Linked DNA regions of Homo sapiens: region 1 is linked to region 2. Evidence: promoter capture Hi-C in 16 types of primary human blood cells and fetal thymus (Javierre and others, 2016). All regions are on one chromosome and are shown on one strand. Each heading gives the region's core, a stretch centred on a gene start or on the middle of the fragment in contact. The rest is flanking DNA. Distances are from core to core; before and after follow the strand shown. Region 1 holds the start of LOC107984821 (a long non-coding RNA gene). Region 2 holds the start of NOL3 (nucleolar protein 3).

The links. Contacts are between HindIII fragments. The CHiCAGO score rates a contact against its expected background, and 5 or more counts as called.
Region 1: a fragment that was not itself captured here is called in contact with the fragment with the promoter of NOL3 in region 2 in 1 of 17 cell types (erythroblasts); the score reaches 6.8 in erythroblasts.

What each region holds. Positions count from the first base shown.
Region 1 is chr16:66,900,689-66,906,528 of GRCh38, reverse strand. LOC107984821 (a long non-coding RNA gene) reads left to right here and starts at 1,269. Exons shown (of 3, transcript XR_001752244.2): 1 at 1,269-1,438. RefSeq lists enhancers at 872-3,356, 5,632-5,840. The HindIII fragment of the contact is 9,071 bases long and covers 1-5,840 here.
Region 2 is chr16:67,167,847-67,173,594 of GRCh38, reverse strand. NOL3 (nucleolar protein 3) reads right to left here and starts at 3,057. Exons shown (of 4, transcript NM_001276309.3): 1 at 3,021-3,057. HSF4 (heat shock transcription factor 4) reads right to left here. Exons shown (of 13, transcript NM_001374675.1): 9 at 5,648-5,748; 10 at 4,659-4,764; 11 at 4,494-4,559; 12 at 4,247-4,316; 13 at 3,654-3,964. The coding sequence ends at 3,810. RefSeq lists enhancers at 1-90, 3,311-3,460, 3,951-4,000 and silencers at 1,007-1,170, 2,811-3,100. The HindIII fragment of the contact is 13,408 bases long and covers 1-5,586 here.

The sequences.
Region 1 (5,840 bases), core at 1,165-3,664, 270 kb after region 2:
GGTGCATGGGTGAATGAATAAGTGGATGGCTAGGCAGATGCATGGCTGGATGGATTGGTGGGTAGATGGATGGGTGGGTTGGTAATCGGGTGGATGGGAGACCCACAGACGAAAGGGTGGATGACAGGATACCAGGGCAAATGAAGGCATCTGCTCTAGTTTGAGGGCTTCTTCCTCGGGCCTCCAGGCCCCGGACCACTCTTGGTTGTCACTGCTGGAGCTGACCGCCAGGTCCACAAGCCCCTTCTCCACAGACAAGGGCCCAGGTTCCTTGGGCATCTGGGGACATAAAACTCTCCTGTATCCTCAGCCCCATTCTGCAGAGGAAGGTGGCCAGGTGCGGTGGCTCATGCCTGTAATCCTGGCACTTTGGGAGGCCAGGGTGAGAGGATTGCTTGAAGCCAGGAGTTCAAGGCCAGCCTAGGCAACAAAGTGAAACTCTGTCTCTACATAAACAGAAAGAGAGAAAGGTGAGGATCAGAGAGGGGGTGTGGCTTATCCTGGGTCGCAGAGGAAGAGAGACACAAAGCTGATTGGTCTCTAGGCTTGGCAGTGGGCCAGTGAATGCCTGTAGAGATTAATGCTAGTGAGGCAGGCTTCATTCTGTAGGCAGGGCCTCGCCCCTGCTAGAGCAAGGTGGGGGCCAACCAATAGCTCTATGGGTAGAAGAGCATGTGTTGTGCTTATCCATGCGATGTGTTCCCAGGAAAACTGCTTCACCTCTCAGAGCCTTGGCTTACTTGGTGATACAAGTTTTTGTCGTTAGGAAAACTACATGAGATAATCCCTGCACAATGCATTTAGCACAGTGCCAGGCACTGCAGGGCTCAGTAAATGTGACTTTCCCCAGTGCATGGATTGTTGAGGGACCTACATCCCCGCACTTACACACACTCCCTAGAGGTCCCAAGAGGCCCAGGCTTTTGGGAGGGAGTTTGGAGAGGGGCCCCAGCTCCAGCCCCAAAGCAAGAGTGCAAGACACCCCTTCCAGCCCCAGCTCCCTTCCAGTGCCCAGGTGCTCTTAGGGTCTGTGATGTCCAGGGTCTCACAGGGTTCTGGGCTGGAGCTGGAGGGGGTTGAGGGGTGGGCCCCAGCAGAGGCCTCATGCTCCCCTTCTCCCAGGCCCCTTCCAGAGGCACTGGGCCAGATCAAAGGGACCCAGCACGGAGGATCAGGAGGCAGCTTGGAAAGAATGTAAACATGAGGATATTTTTAAACTTTTTCCAGCCCCAGCGATTAGGGCTCTTGAAGCCGGAGGCCCAGAGGTCAGTCTGGCCCTCACCCACAAAGAAAGCAACAGTCTCGGGCCCTCAGAGACCCCACCCCACCCACATCTACCTACACCCACCCAGGACTCTAGCTGGGGCCTCGGGGCAGAAGTTCTTCCTAGGGTGTCACCTCCAGACACACTGCTGCGGCGGGAGGATGCGTTTCTAATGTGAGGGCCTCAGCGGCATGGGACCCTGACTTAAGGGGTGGTGGGGGCCTACCAGACAGGGCTGATGTTGGAAGACTGAGCTTGGGAGGCTTCTTAGTGGCCCAGTCACTCTACCAGGCGTGTGTGCACACGTGTGTCTGTGGGTGTATAAGTATATGCTGCAGTCTGGTCTGTGTGATGCACGCATCGGAATGTGTGAGTGTGCGAGGAGCTTGCCTCGGCCCACCCTTCCTCGTTCTTCCCTAGCATCCCTGACCTCCTCCCTGGGACCCCTTTGGTAGGTGGGTGACATGGGGGGGGTACAAAAGAGGAAGAGTCGCCTGAGAACAGGGAGGACGCGAGGAGAGAAAGGCGCCAGAGCCGGGGGCGAGGAGGCTGGGGGTACCAGGTCCGGGGCCATGCAATGAGTCAGGCTGTGAGAGCTGCAGGAGTCACTGATGTGGGGACTGGGACTCGGCTCCCTCCATCACCCCCATGTGTCACAGTTGGAGATGAGGCTCCCTGGATCTCCCGATTCCGGTGTCACAACTACGCTCACCATGGGTTCCATGACAACAGCCTCTTACCTTGTAGTCACGCAGCTACCCTCACACCCTCACAGGAGTGTCACAGGACTCATGCAGGGCCCCCCCAACACCACCCAGTGGTCGTATCCCAGTGACCCCTATCTGTGAGACATGAGGACCCTCACTGTCTTCACATCCCCACTGACCAGAAAGCCAGAATTCACAGGGGCACTCAGAAGCCAGACTAGACTGTGGTCACCAGGACAACGGGGTACCCAGCCCCTGGAGAGGCCTCGGCTGGCTATCTCATTCTCCAGGGGCTGCTGTGCCACCTTGCCCTGCTTGTGGGCCCTGAGAGGGACAATGTCCAGCTCCATGTCATACAGCTCCCCAGTGAAGGGCAGGGCTCAGGCCCCAGCTCAGGATCAATGTGGCGATGGCATCCCCTCCAGATTCCCCCTGCTGAGGCAGCAGCCACAAGGGATGAGGCTTGGAGTTTTACCCTAAGATGTGGTAGGATTTTGGGCCCAGGATGATGGGGGAGCTAGGTGGGGCTGGAACTGATGGAAAGGGGAACCTGGAGACTCATCCTCAGTCTGAGGCTGAGGCTGGACACCTAAAGACATGGTTTGTGTCCCTGTGGGTGCCCACTCACTGGGGCTGTTGCTATTCTTATCCACCTCCCAGTGGCGGTGGCAGTGGTAGTGGCAGTAGGGTCAGAGATAGCTGCTACGTGGGAGAGAGTCATGAGCACCAGCCCTTTATCTGACACATTCCCTGGAAACTTGGCAGGGCCTGCCAGCCTCTGGGGGCCTGGGCGGGGCAGGGCGTGAGGTGGTCACAGGGATAGGATGAGGGGGCTGGGCTGGGCTCAGTGCCGATGAGGACCCGCTCCAGCTGCCTCTCCCACAGCCAGGCAAGGTCCCCTCAGAATTGGCCTGGGGGGTTCTAGTGAGATTTCTTCCCATGCGGAGACTAAGACCACAGGTCACCCTCAGCTCCTACTCACCCTCAGTCCAACCCAGAACACCCCACCGTTGGCCCCATCTCTGAGCTTTGGGCACTCCAGAGAACAATGTATTGGCTTCCTCAGTGATGTGGCTTCTTCCACGGGAGAGCACTGAACTGTGAGCCACAGTGGCCCCATCTGGTGGCTGTCCTGCCTACTTCCCAGCCTCGTGATCTTGGGCAAGTCAATTCCCATCTCTGAGCCTCAATTTCCTCATCCCTCTCCTGGGCTGTGGTGGAGATGACAGGGTCCAGTGGTCAGGAAGCAGGCTGACGGCTGCAAAATGTGAGTGTGTGTGCACGTGAGCACTTGGGTGGGGGGGCCAGAGTGGGGAGAGGGAGGCATATGGGTCTCCCACTTTGGGAGACTCCCGCCCTATGGATTTTCCACTGGCATGTCGGCACCCTCTCCCCTAAAATAGGCTCTACGAGCCGTGTGCGACAGAGCCCAGACTGAGGGGCCTTTTTTTAGCTGGCCTTTGATTGTCAGCTCTCGAGCAGCTGCTATTTTGAGCCCCAACGCCTAGAGGAGTAGGGCCAAGTGGGGGCTGAGGTTAGCTCAGTGGGCCTGGCTGGCTCCCCGAAGGCATCCCCAAGGGGGCTGGCCATCCCATCTCACACCCTGCATTGCTGGCAAGGAGAGCACGACATCTCCTATAGATGGGGCCTAAGGGCTCCTCTGTCTACCTCTGCGGAAGCTGCAGACCTGGCAGAAAACAACCACATTTACAGAGCACACCCCACAGGCCACTGCCCACCCACCCCCACCCAGAGAAGAGCATGCTGTGGGGATTAACTGAGATAATACAAGCAAAGCCCTTACTTAGCACAGAGGCTGGCACATAATTGGCTCTCAAAAAATGGAACAGCTTCTGTTATTATTGTCATTACAGCTGCAGTCATTCTTGGTTTTGTTGTTATAGTTATGTTTTTACCAGATTTCTTTCCAGTCTTTTTTCTATGCATTTATTTTATGTTACTGGGTTCGGGACATGACCCTTCCCACCCCATCCCCATACATGTGTACACGCCTAGTTTCAGCAGAAAGCAGCCCCTCTCAGTCTGCTGGGGTGCCCTCTATGTCTCTGTGCTCCACTCCATACAGGAATCCCCCCTTCTATATAAGGCTTTTGGGGTTGACCCTCGAGATGGCACTTGACCTTTCAGAGTGGATGTAGTTGTGCCCACAGCTTCTGTGATTTCTTCAAATGCCATCAGCCACTGCCCCATAGGATTCCAGGCCCCCAATTCTGAATGTCCAGTTCTAGATGCTAGATCCCTGGCTGGCCACTGTACCTGGGTTCTAGAGCCCTCTGACTGGAACCTGAGGAAATGGGCTTGGTCCACAGCTAGATGTGAGAAAGTGGCATTGCCACTGCATAAGGCGTGGCAATGGATCCTAAGGACAAATGTAGATGCTCTGGGACTCTGGTTATGGGGTGTGTGTGTGTGTGTGTGTGTGTGTGTGTGTGTGTGCAGGGGTATGGGCTGCTGAGAAGAGGGGGATGAGGGTAGGAAGCCAAGTTCTGGGAAGTGGCTGGGGCAGGCCCTCCCCTTCCCTATTGGGGTCACTTCCCAGCAGGGCAGCAAGATCAGCTGGGGTTGGGGGGTCATATGTTCCATCCTTGTCCCAAACAGTTACTGCACAAGGTGAGACTTCCTTGTTACCCGAAGGACAAAAATAGGTCCCAGGTGATGGGCCACGATCCATGCCCAGAACCACAAGGGTTATTCTGAGTGGCAGGCACAGGGCCAGGCCTGGCCTCAGTCAGGTGGACCTGAGCTGGCAGTGGCATCCTCAGCCTGCGGGCTTGCTCTGTCCATTCAGGGACCCTAAATGTAGGTCGGGGGCTGGAACTGCGTGCAGGCTGACGCTCGATCGGTAGGGGCTTGAGTCCCAACTCCGCTATGTGACCTTGGGTAAGCCACTTGGCATCTCCGAGCATCTACCTCCTTCCCAAATGATGGGAACCCTGATCCCTGCCTCTCAGGGTGGGTGAGAGAATTTAGTGAGGCTGACAGATGGCACTCAATAGATGCACAAATCCCTGCTCATCTGTCCTGGAGTCTAGGCCCAGGGGTCCAGAGAGGGTAAGGGCCTTGCCTGAATTGCCTAGCAGCAGAAAGGTCCCTTCTCCTCCAACTCTGAAGAAGCAAGAGCCAGGCACAAGAGCACATTTCTGGGAGGGCATATAGGGATTTTCCAGGAACAGCTCCATCCAACTGGAGAATTCCATTCCCAGCCCTGCTGCCCAGGGCCCAGGCTAAGGAGGAGACACTCCAGCTCACTCTGGTTCTGTCCAGTTCCTGCTCCTCGCCGGCAGAGCCCAGGCAGAGTGCCCCACACCCTGTTCTCTTGCTGTTTGCTGTGGGGTTTGAGGGGCCTGAGGCTCCTAGGTGCCCCCCTCGAGGCCCTGGCACAGAACAGCTGGTCTGAGCACACAGTTGGTCCTCTCCCAACCCCTGATCCCTTCCAGGAGCCCACTGTTTCCTTCATCCAGCATGTCCTAGAATTTTCCCTGGACCCAGCTCCTGCCCTCAGGCTCACCCCAGATGAACATAGACAAGCTGACATGATGGACGCTGACTTGGGGACAGATGGCACCTGACCCAGCTCCAGGGTGGGGGTTGACAAAGGCAGCTGGAGAGGGGAAAGGTGGTCAGGTTGGGACAACTGTCTGGGCAAAGGCTCAGAGGTGTGGCTGTGCTCAGGGGATTGGGACACACTGCAAAGTTTCCTTAAGGCTGGAAGTCGCCTGATAGGCACCGGGGGGTGGGAGAGTGGGGGCGTGGGAGGTAGGGGGCAGGCAGAGGGTTGAACAGAATATTTATTTGCTGAGCTGGAATTGAGCCCTAGTCCCTTTCCCAACACAGACTTATCTCTTCCC
Region 2 (5,748 bases), core at 1,808-4,307:
GATCAGAGCTCCCTGCTTCCATACTCTATCCTCCAGTCCCCTCTGAACCCAGAGCACAAAGTGCTGAGAGCCTCCCTGCCCCTCTCCCCTTACCTTGACCCTGATATCCAACTTTCCAGGACAAGCCCCGCCTCTACACCCTCCCACCAACACCACCACCATAGTGCAACCCCAATGTAGTCTCCTGGCCCTTCCTGGTCCCCTGATTCCTGAGCAGAGATACCAGAATCTTCTTCAGGCCTAGCTCTGACCAAGATCTCTTGACATCACCTGAGACCCACCTGTCTCCCTACTGAAGCCCTAACTCCTAATGTGACTGTCTCTCTGCTGACCCACCTGGCTCCCTGCTGACCTGGGAATTACCTACAGACATTTGTTGTTTGATCTTGAAGTACCCAAGGCCTAGCTCATACAGGATACCGACAAATACTTGCCGAACTTGGACTGATTTTCCTCCATGGATCGCACTATTTTGAGAGACTTTTTTTTTTTTTTTTTTGAGATGGAGTCTCGCTGTTGCCCAAGCTGGAGTGCAGTGGCGCAATCTTGGCTCACTGCAACCTCCGCCTCCCAGGCTCAAGTGATTCTCGTGCCCAGCCTTTTTTTTTTTTTTTTTTTTTAGAGGTGGGGTCTTGCTATATATATTTTTTGTATTTATTTATTTTAGTGGAGACGGGGTTTCACTATGTTGGCCAGGCTGGTCTTGAACTCCTGACCTCGTGATCCACCTGCCTTGGCCTCCCAAAGTGCTGGGATTACAGGCGTGAGCCACCGCGCCTGTCCTGGTCTTGCTATATTGATCAGGCTGGTCTCGAACTGCTGGCCTCAAGCAATCCTCCCATCTCAGCCTTCCAAAGTGCTGGGATTACCAGCACTTTGTGAACCACCATGTGAACCACCATGCCTGGCTCTTGAGAGACTATCTCTACCAACAGCGGCTATTAGGGAGAGTCAATCTGCTTTATCCATTTTTTTTTTTTTTTTTTGACAGAGTCTCACTCTGTTGCCCAGGCTGGAGTGCAGTGGCACATTCTCTCATCACTGCAACCTCTGCCTCCTGAGTTCAAGCGATTCTTCTGCCTCAGCCTCCCGAGTAGCTGAGATTACAGGTGCCCGCACCACGCTCAGCTAATTTTTTGTGTTTTTAGTTGAGACGGGGTTTCACTATGTTGGCTAGGCTGGTCTCGAACTCCTGACCTCGTGATCCACCCACCTTGGCCTCCCAAAGTGTTGGGATTACAGGCATGAGCCACCGCACCCAGCTGCTTTGTCCATTTATTGTCAACCAAGGATTATGGCCCATTCCTGTGAGTGGCCTGACCCAGCCAGCAAGACCCCCGGCATTAGGAGGCAAAGACATCAGGCCTTGAACCATGCCCTCAGCCCACCCCCACCCTGATAATAACTTCTTCTCCTCCCCGCCTTGGCTTTGTTCACACGGCATCCTCCCATCTCTTCTTCCCTTTGCTGTCCCTCCTCTGCCTCCTTCTCTGGCTCTAGGAGGCTCGGCCTTCTCTGGGAGAGAGGATTTAGTCCTAGCCGCCATCCTGCCTCCCAGGTCTTTCTCAGTACCCTCTGGTGTCACACTATACCTCCCCCGTCACTTCACACCCTGGCTTCCTCCCATTGAAGCCCTTCCCCACCAGGCCGAGACCAGGACTACCCCCTGCCCCTCCATCTCCCTTTATGTCCCGTATGTGATGAATCTTGCTTCTCCACTTCTCAGTGAGTCTCCATCAGCTCCTGCCTTGCCACCCCACCATCGTCACCTCATGTCCTGTAACAGTCCCTCTGAGCCCCTCTCACTCCCATTCTGCCAGGCCCGATAGCACAGTGACTTTGACAACCCTCTGGGCTAGGATTGCTGTTCCCATTTTACAGATGAGGAGACAGGCTCAGAGATTCAGTGGTAAAACTGGAATCTTACTTGCTCCAGCCTGAACTATGAGGAACTGAACTATATTTTCCTGTCTAGCAGAATTCCATCCTAAATACCTATCTACCTCCCCCCCACACCCCACTGCCCATCAGAGACAACCCAAAATATCTGGTCTGGCTACTCTAGCCTCCTCCCACCACCCTGGACAGCCAGGCCCTTCCCAGCTTCCCTCCACCAGCCAGGGATCGGAGAACTCACTATGCCTCTGGCACCTCGGAGCCTTTGCTGATGCTGATCGCTAAGACTGGAATCCTTTTCTCCTCCCTCCGCTCCGTGGACCTATCCATCGTCCAGGACTCAAATGTTCCCTTGTCTACACCAATGCCTAAGTGTCCCAAGGGCTGGTGGTTCCTTCTTCTGTGTACCGTGAACAACACATGCCCTCACTAGTGCATTAACTGACATCATTGCACTGTGTACACGCAGACTCTCCGCTTTCTTCAACTGAGTTTTCCAGAGTGTCCCTCCAATCGGTGGGCAAAGGAAGGGAGAGGGGGACAGCACCTACTCGGGACAGACACAGGGAGGGTGCAGATTGGATTGGCCCCTCCTTCTCTCCAACCTAAGTTGTTTTCATGTTAGCCGCCTCCTCCTATGACCCCAAGTCCTGCCCTTTATCCTGTCTGGGGGTAGAGACTCCAGCTGGTCTGGGCCCTCCCTTTGAGGCTCACACAGCTCTCAATACCGAAGTTATTTAGCGGCCAGTCCTTCGAGGGTGACAGGTCCGATTCTTCCCAGAGAGCCAGGTGGCGGGGCACGGAGCTGGGTCCCAGCCCCCAACCCCACCTCGCTGCGCGGGCTCTTTGGCCAGGAAGCCAGGGTCTTGGGACAGTGAAGAGCCTTTGCGCATGTGCGACTGCACGGATTTTCCCCCCCCGCCCCTTACCTCCCTCCACCCAGTCCCAGAGCTTGAGAGTCCTGCGGCAGGGCGGGGCCCACAGTCCTACCCACCCCGCCCCCCCGACCCCCGAGCGCCGCAGCGGGTGGTGGGGCGCTGATTCTGCCCAATCTCGGTTTCCCTTCCCTCCCACAGCCGGGAGTGGGGCTCCCGGTCTGGCCCGTTTTGGGCGTCCCCACTCACGGGTCAAGCCTCGGCGGGGCAGGAGATGACGGTGCAGAAAGGGCCGGGCAGGGTGGGGGTGGGTGCAGCAGCTGCGGCGGGGGCGGGGCGGCCAGGGCTGCTGGGAATAGGGAGGGTGAGGGTTCTTCCCCGGGCACTAGGAGCCACACCGCGGAGGCCGCGCGCTGGCTGGGGACGTGCATGTAGTCAGCTTTCCCTCCCCACCCGGGGCGCACCAGGAGATGAGGCCAGGAGGGGGCAGTTCGGCCCGCGGCCCCACACGTCCAGCGCCCACTCAGGGCCTGCCAATTTCCAGGTGCTTTCCATCTATCTTGTCATCGACCCCTCTTCTCTGCCTGTCACAGAGGAAGTTCAGAGAAGGATACCAACTCACCAGGATCACAGAACGCATGCATTGCAGAGCTGAGCGCGACCCAGAAGCCCCCGCTTCCCAGAGATTGCAGCGGCCCCGCGCCAGCCCTGGACCCGGGCCTAAGCAAGGGAGCTAGGCACCGGATCCCCAAGCACCTCCACCCTCCTGGGGTTCCTCTATTAAAAACCTAGTATCTGGACGCTTCTACAAATGCAAAATCACCCCCCACCCATAACTCCTGTGCTCCCTGGTCGATAGAGAAAAGAGACCAGAAACAGAAAAAAAAAAAACGGAGTTTATGTGCAGGGATAGTCGGGGTAGTGGAGAGAGGCCATTTAGTAGTGGGGGCTTCGCTCACCCCCGATAGGGGGCGCCAGGAAGCCAAGAAGGATGTGCAGCGGCGGACTGGTTCCAAGCCCCTTCAGAGGCGCGGGGTCTTAGGGGGAGGGACTGGCTTCCGGGCCCAAGTAGGAGGCAGTCCGGCTCTCAGGAGTGCTATAAATGGTTAAAGCCCCAGGCAGGCCCAGGGCTGGGCCTCCCAAGGCCGCCTGGACATCCAGCAGGAGTGGGGCCCCGAGCGTGGGGTCCTTCCCTAGGAGAAGTGGGACTGCGCTCACCAGGGGAAATGTTCCCCCTCCTTTCTTCAGGGAAGGAGAGCCCTGCCCGCCTGCCTTCTGCTCAGTTAGGATAAAACATCCATTCTTAACCTCCCCACTCTCGCCCAATGGTGAGGGCATGGGTGGCTCAAGGAACGCTCTGCAGTGCAGCCTGAACTCAGGATTTCCCTGCAAATTGCAGATTGCCCCCTCACTCAATCAAGGTAGCTCAGCCCAATCACGGCGTCCTCCCAGGTAGGAGTCATCACAACCATTACCTGGGCTTGGAGAATTTAACCCCTTGACCGCCAGCTCAGGCTCACCCCGCTCTGGAACCAAGGGCTGCATCTGCGTGAGAACCGCAGGGAGCAGCTGGGGAGGGGACCTAGCAGCTGAGGGGGACAGCTGGGAAATCACTGTGACAATTCTTCTAGAGACACGGCTTTGGCTCACAGAGAACAGCTATGGACCAGAGGGCTTGACTCAGCCACCCCTGGCCTCTGCCCTCCCCGACCCACTTCTTACCAAGGACAGCTCCATGTCCAAGTCCATCAGGGTCCATTCTCGCCCTTGGAGACTGGGGCCCAGCACCTGAGGAGAGCTCTGGGTCAGTGGTGCCCTCCCCAGGCTCCACAGAGAGCTAGACCCCACCAGGTCTCATGCCCCTGTTTCAGCAGAAGGGGTACTCACATCTAGAGGCCCTGCAGGTTCCACACTTTCTTGAGGGGGCTGAAGCAGCATCGGAGGCAGCAGACTCTCTGGGCTCCTGTCCCCGCTTTCCAGGCCCAGAGGCCCCCTGTGCAGACAGAACTGCTTTTGGCCTGCAGTGTCCACCCCGCATTAAGTTCCCAAGGAACCCAGATGCATCAAGATTTTAATCCCCCAATCTTTAGAAAATGATAGGAGAGGATCCCCATCCTCTCTCCACCCCCAACCTCCCCACTCCTGCCATAAATGGCACAGAGAAAGTGCCTCTGCTTCCTACCTGGGACCTGAAGTTTGGGTGGTGGAGCTGGGGCTTTGGGACCCTTCCCCTCCCTATGCAAGTATCAATATCCATGCTTCTTTCTCTTCTTTCTTTATTTCTTTCTTTCTTCCTTTCTTTTTTCTTTCTCTCTCTCTCTCTCTTTCCTTCTTTCTTTCTTTTCTTTTTTTTGGAGACAGTTTCACTATGTCACCCACTATGTCACTATGGCACTGTCTTGGCTAACTGCAGCCTCCACCTCCCAAGTTCAAGCGACTGTCCTGCCTCAGCCTCCTGAGTAGCTGGGACTACAGGCAAACGCCACCACACCCAGCTAATTTTTGTATTTTTAGCAGAGGCGGGGGGTTTCACCATGTTGGCCAGGCTGGTGTTGAACTCCTGACCTCAAGTGATCTGCCCGCCTCAGCCTCCCAAAGTGCTGGGATTACATGCATGAGCCACCTCATAGCCACCAATGCTTCTTAAACTATTGTGTACTTTGCAGTCACCCCAGGGAACTCATTTCATATGTAGGTTCCTAAGCCCTTCCGCAGATGCTGAGTGCCCTGACTGGGAGGCTCTGCTTTCCACAGAACTCTGATGCTGGGGCCAAGAAATCAGGTGAGTATCATGGAGTCAAATGGCTAGGAAGCTTTGTGGGCTGGTAAGGGCTGTTCTATCACAGGGCTCATGGGCCAGCTGGGGCTCTGCTCACCTGTCAGGTATCTCCCTGGGATCCCCTGGTTCAGGCTGTTGGGCATTCCTGGGCCCCTCGGGGCTGAAGCTCCCTTTCCCTTCCAGGATGGCCTGCACCAC